Linked DNA regions of Homo sapiens: region 2 is linked to region 1. The links are contacts of gene promoters, found by promoter capture Hi-C in blood cells and fetal thymus (Javierre and others, 2016). All regions are on one chromosome and are shown on one strand. The core of a region is centred on a gene start or on the middle of the fragment in contact, and the rest is flanking DNA. Distances in the headings are between cores, read along the strand shown. Region 1 holds the start of CHUK (component of inhibitor of nuclear factor kappa B kinase complex). Region 2 overlaps ENTPD7 (ectonucleoside triphosphate diphosphohydrolase 7).

What was found. The method cuts DNA at HindIII sites, captures the fragments that hold promoters and counts their contacts. A CHiCAGO score of 5 or more calls a contact.
Region 2: a contact is called between a fragment that was not itself captured here and the fragment with the promoter of CHUK in region 1, in 1 of 17 cell types (neutrophils). The highest score is 5.0, in neutrophils.

Annotation. Positions count from the first base shown.
Region 1 is chr10:100,227,254-100,233,461 of GRCh38, reverse strand. It overlaps CHUK (component of inhibitor of nuclear factor kappa B kinase complex), which reads left to right and starts at 3,866. Exons shown (of 21, transcript NM_001278.5): 1 at 3,866-4,034. The coding sequence starts at 3,930. It overlaps CHUK-DT (CHUK divergent transcript), which reads right to left and starts at 3,802. Exons shown (of 4, transcript NR_186419.1): 1 at 3,738-3,802; 2 at 2,336-2,447; 3 at 19-231. CWF19L1 (CWF19 like cell cycle control factor 1) reads left to right here. Exons shown (of 14, transcript NM_018294.6): 14 at 91-1,164. The coding sequence ends at 235. RefSeq lists silencers at 2,557-2,819, 3,889-4,128 and an enhancer at 3,729-3,778. The HindIII fragment of the contact is 6,397 bases long and covers 2,884-6,208 here.
Region 2 is chr10:99,664,308-99,669,742 of GRCh38, reverse strand. The region is part of intron 3 of ENTPD7 (ectonucleoside triphosphate diphosphohydrolase 7); the gene reads right to left. Among named protein-coding and RNA genes, the nearest start is that of ENTPD7, 7.5 kb to the right of the region's middle. The HindIII fragment of the contact is 5,646 bases long and covers 1-4,119 here.

The sequences.
Region 1 (6,208 bases), core at 2,617-5,116:
TCAGAGAAATTTGCATACCTCCTTTGGGTGATGTTGAGGAGAGCTCAGGCTGATAGTTTCCATTTTGACTTCTTTGTGCTATTTCTGCAGGGAGGTCCTGGCCAGTGAAGCCATCCTTAATGTTCCTGATAAGTCTGACTGGAGGCAGTGTCAGATCAGCAAGGAAGACGAGGAGACCCTGGCTCGCCGCTTCCGGAAAGACTTTGAGCCCTATGACTTTACTCTGGATGACTAAAACAAAGGGAAGAACTTTTTATGAACTCCACAGGAAGTAGTAAAGCTTTTTTTTTTTTTTAATTAAAAGAATTTTTTTTGAGACAAAGTCTCGCTCTGTCACCCAAGCAGGATTGCAGTGGCATAACTGTGGCTCACTGTAGCCTCAACCTCCTGGGCTCTAGAGTTCCTCCCACCTCAGCCTCATGAGTAGCTGGGACCACAGGCGCATGCTACCATGCCTGGCAAACTTTTTTGATTTTTTATAGAGACAGGAGGGTCTCCCTGTGTTGCCCAGGCTGGTCTGTAATGCCTAGGCTCAAGGGATCCTCTGCCTTGGCTTCTTAACCTGCTGGGATTACAAGCATGAGACACCATTCCTGGCCTAGAAGCCTATTTTTAAAGAAACTACAATCTCCCATGGGGACTGTTTCCCTGCCTCTTTTGTGCAGTCCCATGGAACTTGCCTACAGCAAGAGGCCTAAGATTGAATCTTTTTGGGGAAAAGTCATTCTAGGATGAAAATCCTATGTTAAGGCCGGGCGCAGTGGCTCACGCCTGTAATCCCAGTACTTTGGGAAGCCGAGGCAGGTGGATCACCTGAGGTGAGGAGTTTGAGACCAGCCTGGCCAACATGGTGAAACCCCGTCTTTACTAAAGCTACAAAAATTAGCTGGGCGTGGTGCCAGGCACTTGTAATCCCAGCTACTCAGGAGGCTGAGGCAGGAGAATTGCTTGAGCCTGGGAGGTGGAGGTTGCAGTGAGCCAAGATCGCTCCATTGCACTCCAGCCTGGGTGACAGTGAAACTCCATCTCAAAAATAAAAGAATAAAAGTATGTCTGTCATCCAGCTCCTATGTCTGTTATCCAGCTCCAAGTACAGCTTGTGTATATCAACATTTTCAAAAACCTTTAAACTACCAAATGAAATCCAGATGTTTTTCCATGGTTGAGAAGTGTCTTGTGTTCATGTTGCCTGTGACCGTTGAAATGAAGTAGTATGTGTAATAGCAGGGGCTAGAGCTTTAGGCCCAGCTGTTACTCCAAAATCACACAGGGCAGTTTCTCCCTGAACAACCCAAAGTGGAAAAGGGATCCAAGGCTTTTGCTATTTTTCTCTTAAGCATTCATCTTATTCATAGATAAGAGCCCATTTAGTCCTTCGGATATTTAACTCCTATGTGCCAGGCATTTTTCTAAGCTCCAGGACCATAGTCATGTCCCAATATGGTCCCTGTTGTCCCAGAGATTACAGTTTAATGGGGAATAGAAGGGACAGATTTAAGAAAAAAAAGATAATTCTCCTTTGGATATTGTTTTAGGTGCTTGATATATCTAATATGTGTCTGTTGTGCTGCTGGGCAGTTCTAAACTCATCAGTACCTGGGTTGGTTACAGGGCTTTGGGGATCATCAGGGTATAGGCCATAGGTGAAATTAAGATAGGGTAAATACAGTCCTGAGCTGAAGATGATTACCTGAGAAATATCAGTATTTAAGGAGTGCTTGAAAATAGTGATCTAACATTTACATAGAGAAGGAGCAAAGAGAATGCTACATATTAGGCGCAAAAAGAAAAATATTTTTACCTTTATATTGGGCACTTATGGTCCAGACACTGTTTCATTTAATCTTCACAAAATCTCTGTGAGGTAGGTATTACCTCTATTTTACTCATGAAAAAAAAACTGAGACTCGGAAAATTGAAGATTGTGGAGCCTGGGGTCAACAGGCTTAGGCTTTTTAAAAAACAGGCCAGGTGGCTCATGCCTGTGATTGCAGCACTTTGGGAGGCTGAGGCAGGCAGATGACCTGAGATCAGGAGTTTGAGACCAGCCTAGCCAACACGGTGAAACCCCGTCTCTACTAAAAATGCAAAAAATTAGCTGGGCGTGGTTGCATGCGCCTGTAATGCCAGCTACTCGGGAGGCTGAGGCAGTAGAATTGCTTGAACCCTGGAGGTGGAGGTTGCAGTGAGCTGAGATCACACCATTGCACTCCAGCCTGGGTGACAAGAGTGAAACTCCATCTCAAACAATAACAACAACAACAACAAAAAACAACTCAAATTACTCATGGCCCTGGGAATGGGGGCATTTAAAAAGTTAACCAAGGGAACCAACCTGGTTTCCACAAAGATGGCCACTTCTGGGTCAGCCCAATCATCAGTATCCCTGGGTCCTCAGCATCCCTTCCTACCTCTTTTGACTGGGAATTACGAGATTACAGCCCCACCTACGGAAATTGAGCACATTAGCACTGGCCATGCTGTACATACAGCAAATGAGAGGGCTTCATACTGTTACAACAATCTGTACCACAATTCTCTGTGCGGTCTGCCCAGCTCTAAATGACATGTCCTCAGAGGCATCATCATCTCCAAGTCCATGGAAACCATGCACTTACAGAAACCAGAACCTCCCATACCACATGTTACTAATGACCTACAACATCGACTTCGTCTGTATCATGCAGTGCTCAACATTCTGGTTGCAGCATCACATTTATCAATAATTTGATTCCATGCTGATTCCTTTACTTGGAGTATTGAGATCCCCCAGGTACAGTGAAGGTATGACCCTCTTAAATGGAAGACCAGGAGTTGTTTCCCCTATGCTATGGCAATCCGCCACCCGGAAGCACTTGCTGCACCAACAGCATTCCCAAAGCTTGCCTCTGCAGCCCTGTAGCACCCATTAGAAACACTTCTCACAATGAACTACTGTGCTGGCAAACCCATAACTGGACTGCCGGACAGCAAGCTCTGTGAGGCATCTAGGAAAAAAGCTCGCGAAATCCCGAGAAACACTCTTCACTCCGGAATAGCGTCACATTCTTGAGTCATTTGGGATGACAGGGGATATCCTGGAGCAGGTGTATTGGGAAGTCAGTGAACAAGAAGGCTAATTCATTAGTGGGCCTGCTAGCGTAGTATTTTAACGATTTCGCAGCCTTTAAATCATTGGTGGTCTTTAGCGTGCCGGATCAGCTGGTGGTGGAGTTGGAGGATAGATGGCAGGGATCTGAAGAAAGGTGAAGTGTAGATAGGAGTAGAGACAATATGAAGTTTAGAAAAGACTAATTGCTGGACGCGGTGGCTCATGTCTATAATCCCAGCACTCTGGGATGCCAAGGTGGGAGGACTACTTGAGACCAGGAGTTCGGGACCAGCCTGGGCAACGTAGCAAGACCATGTCTCTACAAAAAATAAAAAATTAGCCAAGCGAGGTGGTGCGCGCCTGCAATCCCAGCTACTCGGGAGGTGAGAAGATCGCTTAATTCCGGGAGGTCGAGGCTGCAGTGAGCCGTGATCGTGCCATTGCACTCCAGCCTGGGCAACGGAGCGAGACCCCATCTTAATTAAAAAGAAAAAAATACAGGAGAGACTGGGCTGCTTTGAAAAGTGGATTTGACGGGAATGTGGGGTTTGGAGAGATCTTATGTTTTCCAAGACTAGAAAAACATTGTGGTTCCGTTCAGCCCTCCCGGAAAATACGTAGGGGACTTAAAGAGCGGACCGAGTACCTGTTTGTTTCCCCATCCCTTAGCCGGCAGGGCTCTGGCAGCGCCCTGGGAGAACTTAGGGAAGGGCCTTCTCGCAGCGGTTACCGGAAGTGACGCATTCATTCTCGCGAGAACAAAGACGCGCGAGCATCGGCGGCCCGGAACCGGCCTTGGAACAACTGTGGAACCTGAGGCCGCTTGCCCTCCCGCCCCATGGAGCGGCCCCCGGGGCTGCGGCCGGGCGCGGGCGGGCCCTGGGAGATGCGGGAGCGGCTGGGCACCGGCGGCTTCGGGAACGTCTGTCTGTACCAGCATCGGGTGAGGCGGGGCGTGAGAGGGAGCGGCGGTGGGTTGGAGCGGCGGTGGGTTTGAGCGTCTGTGGAACACAGGGCTGACAGTGTGGGATAGATGGTTGGTGGGACCTTGGGCAGTATTTGGGGGCCAGTGGGCTTGTGTGTGTGTATTAGAGAGAAAGATACTATGCCTGTGTGTCCAAAGTTGTATTTGAGGTACTGGGCATAGATAGAGCTGTTGCGGGGAACTTGGGTATGACTGTCAGGCTGTGACCAGGTGTTTAGTGAGTGTGACAGTGCGTGTGTGTCTCTGTGAATGTGGAGTGTCAGGGTGTGTGAGGCAGATGCACGTCACAGTGTGTATGTAGGAGCACGAATGTGTGAGAAGAGGGCTGAAGGGGACTGCCTTTGGGAATGTGTGCGTCCGTGTGTGTGTGTGTGTGTGTGTGTGTGTGTGTGCGCGCGCGCGCGCGCGCTTGGAGGCCATATGATATCAGTGGGGACTGGAGTAGACAAGGAAGGCTTCATGATGGGTCCAGAGTTAAGCCTTTGGAAGCATGGATGGGCTTTGGAATTGGGGATGTATTCCAGGTCGGGACAGTATGAGGGTGAGTTGGTGCAGAGCATGGCTTCAAACGAAAGGCTATATTAGTAGATGGAGATGGGGGGCGCTCTAGTAGGTGGAGGACAGTTAACATCAGACTCAAGAATTTTACTTTGATTTAATAGAGAATGTTTAACCATTGTAGTAGCAGTTAAAAAATCATATTTGGGTCTTGTTTGTTTGTTTTTGTTTTTGAGACGGAGTCTCACTCTGTCGCCCAGGCTGGAATGCAGGGCGCGATCTCGGCTCACTGCAGCCTCCTCCTCCCGAGTTCAAGCGATTCTCCTGCCACAGCCTCCTGAGTAGCTGGGATTACAGGCGCCCGCCACCGTGCCTGGCTAATTTTTTTGTATTTTTAGTAGAGACGGGGTTTCACCATGTTGGCCAGGCTGGTCTCGAACTCCTGACCTCAGGCGATCCACCTGTCTCAGGCTCCCAAAGTGCAGAGATTATAGGCGTGAGCCACGGCACCAGGCCTGGGACATGTATTTTTTGATATACCGATAAAAGCTGTGAACCCTTTCCCCAGAAAAATGCACAGATGCACATTCACACAACCATGCATTGCCATTTGAGAGGTTCGTGCCTTCCTAAAGGACATTTTAGGTAAATAGACCCTGGACTAATAATTCCTGTAATATAGGCTTTGTTTTGTTGCCTGTAAAGTAAGTATAGTATAATAATTACATGCATCATGGATTTGAGAGTTAAATAAAATAGTAATGTGTGTAAAGCTAAATACGGTACCTGACCCATGAAAGCCCTCAACTGTTAGCACCTGCTGCTACTTTGTTGTTGTTGCTGCTATGATCATAATGCTCCTCATTAATTGGCCTTAAGGAAATGTCAAGATAAAAAGTGTTGTTCTAGGAAAATGGTTTTGTAAAGGATAAATTTGAGTGGAACAACATATGGGACAAGATGAACAGGTAAGATCTTACTAAAATGCCTGGGCTTGGCTTGTGAATAGAGAAGTTAATTCAAGAGGAAAAGTAATAATTTGTTATCTAAAGGAACATGGGTGTAGTGAGAAAGCTCGTAATTTGGGGTGGGAGAAAGGGGAGATAGGAGTCTACCTTGGGAAAATAGGCATATTTAGGGTAATTAGAATGACAACTGAAACTGTTAGAACTGAGGAAGTTTTGTGAACCAGGTTTCTAGATAGGGCATAGGAGAAAATCTTGGAGAAAGAGAATGGAAGGTGAAGGACTAAGGCATTAAGTCCTGTGATAGCAGGATAAGTAGTAAATTTAATAATTCTCACCATCAGAGGGAACATAACACACTAAAAAAAAAAAAAAGTGGGAGCCAAGTGCTTCCAGTGGCATGTTGCCTGTGTTACCTAAGCCTGCCTATCCGCCTGGTCATAAGGAAAAAGGATGCATGCTGGCAGCTTTTGTGACTTCTTTTCTTGGTCCCTGGGTGGGGATGGATGAATTAATCACTTTTTGTTTTATTATGGTAAAGTATACATAACACAACATTTATCACTTTATTTTTAAGTGTACAGTTAGGTGGCATTAAGTACATTGACGTTGTTGTACAGCCATAACCCTATCTCCAGAATATTCCGACTTTTTTGTTGTTGTTGTACA
Region 2 (5,435 bases), core at 47-2,546, 560 kb after region 1:
AACCACACATCTAACACAAGTATTATTCTCAAAAACAGCTCTGCTGTGCATGTGTAGGGTCAGGGGATATGTGGTAAATCTCTGCACCTTCAGCTCAAATGAGCTGTAAAACTAAAATGGCTCTAAAAAAAGTGTATTAAAAAAAACACAGTTTTGGATTCTATCCTTACTGACACCCCATCTCTCTAAATTTACTTTTTTTGTATCAAATAAATTCTAGTTTTGATGCAAACTTCCTACTCTCTCTTTCCAGAAGCAATATGGATACATGTTCACAATAAAGAAAAAAAATGTAAGTCTTTAGTTCTGGAACTACTGAGAGAAAACCCCCTGACAGGCTTCTAAAGTCCTGGTTAATATCCCCTGAAAAGTGATATGTTAAATTCCACCAATGCCTATAAAAAGTTCACATTGAAATATCTGTTTTCAATGCAAAAGTAATTAAAATATTTTAAACATTAACTGCTTTCATATATATTAAAATACAAAGATGCAATGTGCAAGAGAGACTATCATTTCTAATTAAAGCAATGCCTTATTTGTCAAGACCATAAAACAATGAATGGGCCTAGGACAGTGGCTCACATCTGTAATCCCAGCACTTTGCGAGGCCAAGGCAGGTGGATTGCTTGAGCCTAGGAGTTCATGACTACGCTTGGCAACATAGGGAGACACTGTCTCTACAAAAAAAAAAAAAAAAGATATATAAAATAAAATAAAGAATGCATGTAGTGTTCCTCTAGGCACATTTTCCTGATCAAAGGTTTGCAAACTTGCTCCCATGAAGACACGTGTAAGTGGGTTCCTGGAAGACAGCACACTTTCTGAGGGACACCACAAAGTACGGATATAATTTCACTGTGTGAATTAGGAACAATTTAAGTAGAAAAAATATGTCTATATATGAATATAATATAAAAAAATCACAACTACAGGCGCTTGTGTTAAAACTTTTTTAAGCTGTTAAATTAAGGTAGCAAGTGTTTCTACCAATTCCTAGTTACTTGCTTAATCATTTCATCAAAATTTTAAATAGAGATTATAACGCCCATTATCTTCAGTGTATATTTTCAGGCAGAGAAGAGAATTGGAAAACAGAAAAATCAAGATTATTTCAAATAATAGATTGACATTTGATTAGTCAATCAATGCACCTGACATTCCTAGATGCTCTACTCTTCTTATGCAAATGACAAGACTAAAAGACAGCTATTTTTATTCTCACTTTATATATAAAGAATATGAAATTCCAGGATATTAAGAAACCTGCCCAAGATTACCCAACTAGCAAATGATGGGCTGATTAACTCTAATATTAACATTCTTTCCCTTACCTCACAATACCTCCTTAAGTAAATGTAACCAAATCTTAAAGCAGTTTTTCTCAACCCAGGTGGTATATTAGATTCACCTTGAGAAGAGTCCCAATTATTTGCATTTTTCTAAAGGTCCCCAAGTGATTTAGATACACAAAGGTTGAAAACCTCTGATTTAAAATTATCATTAATGGCCAGGCATGGTGGCTCACGCCTGTAATCCCAGCACTTTGAGAGGCTGAGGTGGGTGGATCACATGAGGCCAGGAGTTTGAGACCAGCTTGGCAAACATGGTGAAACCCTGTCTCTACTAAAAATACAAAAATTAGCCGGGCATGGTGGTGCGCACCTGTAATCCCAGCTACTCGGGAGGCTAAGGCATGAGAATCGCTTGAACCTGGGAGGTGGAGGTTGAAGTGAGCTGAGATCATGCCACTGCACTCCAGCCTGGGCAACAGAGTGAGACTCTGTCTCAAAAAAAAAAAAAAAAAAAAAAAGATTATCATTTCATTAACATAAATTTTTAGACTATGTAATAAAACAGTTTTAACAACATATGTAGAACTGTTTACCACTATAGAAACTGTCTGTAGAAATTTTGAGTTATTGAGTCTATCTTTATTAAATTTCCTCTCTCCTGCTTCACTGTCAAGATGCCAGATATAACTGATTATTGTCATAATGTGCCCACATCTAACAACACACCCCACCCACCATTCCAATTTGCTGTTATCTACTGTGTTCTGAGACAAGTGAGAACCATGCAAATGAGAACAGTGTGTAAAATAAAAGCTAACAGGCTTTATGTGAGAGCCTATCTTATCAGTAAAGTACAGGTGCTTTTAGCACATGAACTTAGTGATATCAAATTTGGTTGCTCAAGAACTTCTTCTGTTTAATTTCTGATTCTTAGCTTTGTTCCTAATTCTTAACCTTGTACATAGTTCCTGATTCTTCACTCCTGATTCTATACAACCGTACCTAAACTATTATCTCACTGGGAAATAATTTTTCCTTTATGCCTGCCTCTCTAACTAGATTACGAACTCCTTGAGTTCAGGGGCTATGTTTAGTCATCTTTGTACTCCAGTGCTATCATAGAGTCATCGACACAGCAAACCCTCAATAAATGTTTGCCTCTTAAATGACTCATGGAGGCTGCCCTGAGTGAAGTTTAATGATAAATGGTCATTTGTGGCAATATATACAGAACCTTTCATTAAGTAACAATGAGCTCTGAGCCACAGCATTCCAGGGTGTTAGGACTTTGGTGAGGTCGCCACAGTGGCACAGTCTATGTGTTCCTCAGCTCTATTGCTAACTTGTTTCAATTAATTCAACCTACCAAGTATTTATTGGCTCTGACCACTTGGGATACAGTGATAGACAAGAATTATCAGATCACTCTGCCACCCACATACATTTAAATGCTTTTACCTCTCTCCATCCTCTTGCAACCACAACCATCTCTCTATTGAGGTACAGTCATTGACTTACAATGGTACAACTTATGATTTTTCAGCTTTATGATGGTGCAAAAGTGATGCACATTCAGTAGAAAGTATACCGTGAGTATCCACACAACCATTCTGTTTTTCACTTTCAGTACAGTATTCAATAAATTACATGAGATATTCAATACTTTATTATAAAATATGCCTTCTGTTAGGTGGTTTTGCACAACAGTAGGCTAATGTAAATGTTCTGAGCACCTTTAAAGTAGGCTAGGCTAAGCTATGACATTTGTTAGGTTAGGTGTATTAAATGCATTTTCAACTTATGATATTTCAATTTACATAACCCATCATAAGTCAAGGAGCATCTCTAGTTCAATTACTCTTCCTGCTTTCTTTTTCATTCCTCTCCAATTCTTTTTCCACAATCCCACCAAAGTGAGCTTTCTTTAAGAAGCAGTTCTGGCTGGGCACGATGGCTCATGCCTGTAACCCCAGCACTTTGAGAGGCCGAGGCAGGTGGACTACTTGAGGCCAGGGATTCGAGACCAGCCTGGCCAACATGGTGAAACCCCGTCTCTACTAAAAAATACAAAAACTAGCTGGGCATGGTGCCACATGCCTGTAATCCCAGCTACTTGGGAGGCTGAGGCAGGAGAATTGCTTGAACCTGGGAGGCGGAGGTTGTAGTGAGCCGAGATAGCGCCACTGCACTCCGGCCTGGGTGACAGAGTGAGACTCTGTTTCAAAAAAAAAAAAAATTAAAAAGCAGTTCCAACCTTTTCACTCTTCAAAACCTTTCAAAGCCTTCCTTCTGCCCTGAGGGTAATGCCTAAACCCTCTAAAATAGCTTAACAGACTCAGCTTGATCTAGCTCTCCAGCCATACAGCTCACCATTCACTCCCTAATTGTCTTTAGCCATATTAACTAACCTACATGGAAGTCCATAATTAGACCATGTCGTCTTCAAGTGAGAAACTATGCGCAGGTCTGTCAAGAAAATTCCATAAGCATTAAACAAACTCAAATTATGGATTTAGGTCTCCAAATTTAGTACATTTCTTAAGGGCAGTTGTTGATTACTATAATCATCCAAACAGTGTTTCCTCTTCTGGAAAGGAAAAGAAAGTCGAGGCTGGCATGGTACTCATGCCTGCAATCCCAACACTCTGGGAGGCCAAAGCAGGAGGATCGCTTGAGCCCAGGTGTTCAAGACCAGCCTGGGCAACATAGTGAGACCTCCATCTCTATTTCAGTAACGTTTAAAAAGAAAAAAAAAAAAGAAAAGCAAGCCAAAAATACAAATGAATTGGGCTGCTAGAAGAAGGCAAGGCTGAAAACATAAGCTTCTTGAGAAAATGTACCAAAGTCTCTGTATCTGGTGTCTGATGCCTATTATCGTCTGCACATAGTGGCTGCTCAAATTTTTGTTGAATGAATGAATGAATGATGAATGAATGAATGAATGACCAAAGTGAATGGGAAATGAGAAAATCTGGGGACAGAATCCAGAAATAAAAAGGAGGGTAGGCATGTGTCCCAATTCTGACCAAAAAAGATTCCAGGAAATGGTTGTTAGAGGTTTCTGGCAAGGCTCTTCTCCATTCTTAGAAGAGAGTCATGGAAAGCCTTTCTGTCTCCTACGGGACATAAGTGAATATATATGCTGCCCTGGTTGCTACTGTCTGCTGTTTTTCTTCTCTTTTTTTTTTTTTCTTTGAGACAGGGTCTCACTCTGTCCCCCAGGCTGGAGTACAATGGCGTGATCCCAGCTCACTGCATTCTCTACCTCCCCAGGCTCCAGTGATCCTCCCACTTCAGCCTCCTGGGAAGCAAGGACTACAGGTGCATGCTACCATGCCTGGCTAATTTTTATATTTTTTTGTAGAGACAGAGTTTCACCATGTTGCACAGGTTGGTCTCGAACTCTTGAGCTCGTGCAATCCACCTGCCTCCGCCTCCCAAAGTGCTGAGATTACAGGCGTGAGCCACCATGCCCGGCAGTCTGCTGTTTTTCAACCATTAAGTAAACTGACACTGTGGACAACAGACAGGAGAGACAGAGCCTCTCATCCTGTCAGCCAGTGTTGAACTTGTAGTCCTTCTACCCCTGGACTTCCAGGTATGTGAGCATTCTTATTGTTTAAGTCAATGTGGGCTGTTATTTGCAGCCCAAAGCCTCTTAACTAATACATATCTGAGAAGCAATAAAAAGAAAATTTAGGCCAGGCATGGTGGCTCACGCCTGTAATTCCAGCACTTTGGGAGGCCAACGTGGGTAGACCACAAGGTCAGGAGATCGAGACCATCCTGGCTAACACAGTGAAACCCCATCTCTATTAAAAATACAAAAAATTAGCCAGGCATGGTGGCATGTGCCTGCAGTCCCAGCTACTCAGGAGGCTGAGGCAGGAGAATCACTTGAACCCGGGAGGCAGAGGATGCAGTGAGCTGAGACAGCGCCACTGCACTCCAGCCTGGGCAACAGAGCAAGACTCTGTCTCAAAAAAAAAAAAAAAAAGAAAATGTAAATATTTTAAAAATGAGGCCAGGCACAGTGGCTCACATCTGTAATCCCAGCATTTTGAGATGCCAAGGCAGGAGGATTGCTTGAACCCAGGAATTGAAGGTTATAGTGAGCTATGATCGCACCACTGTACTCCA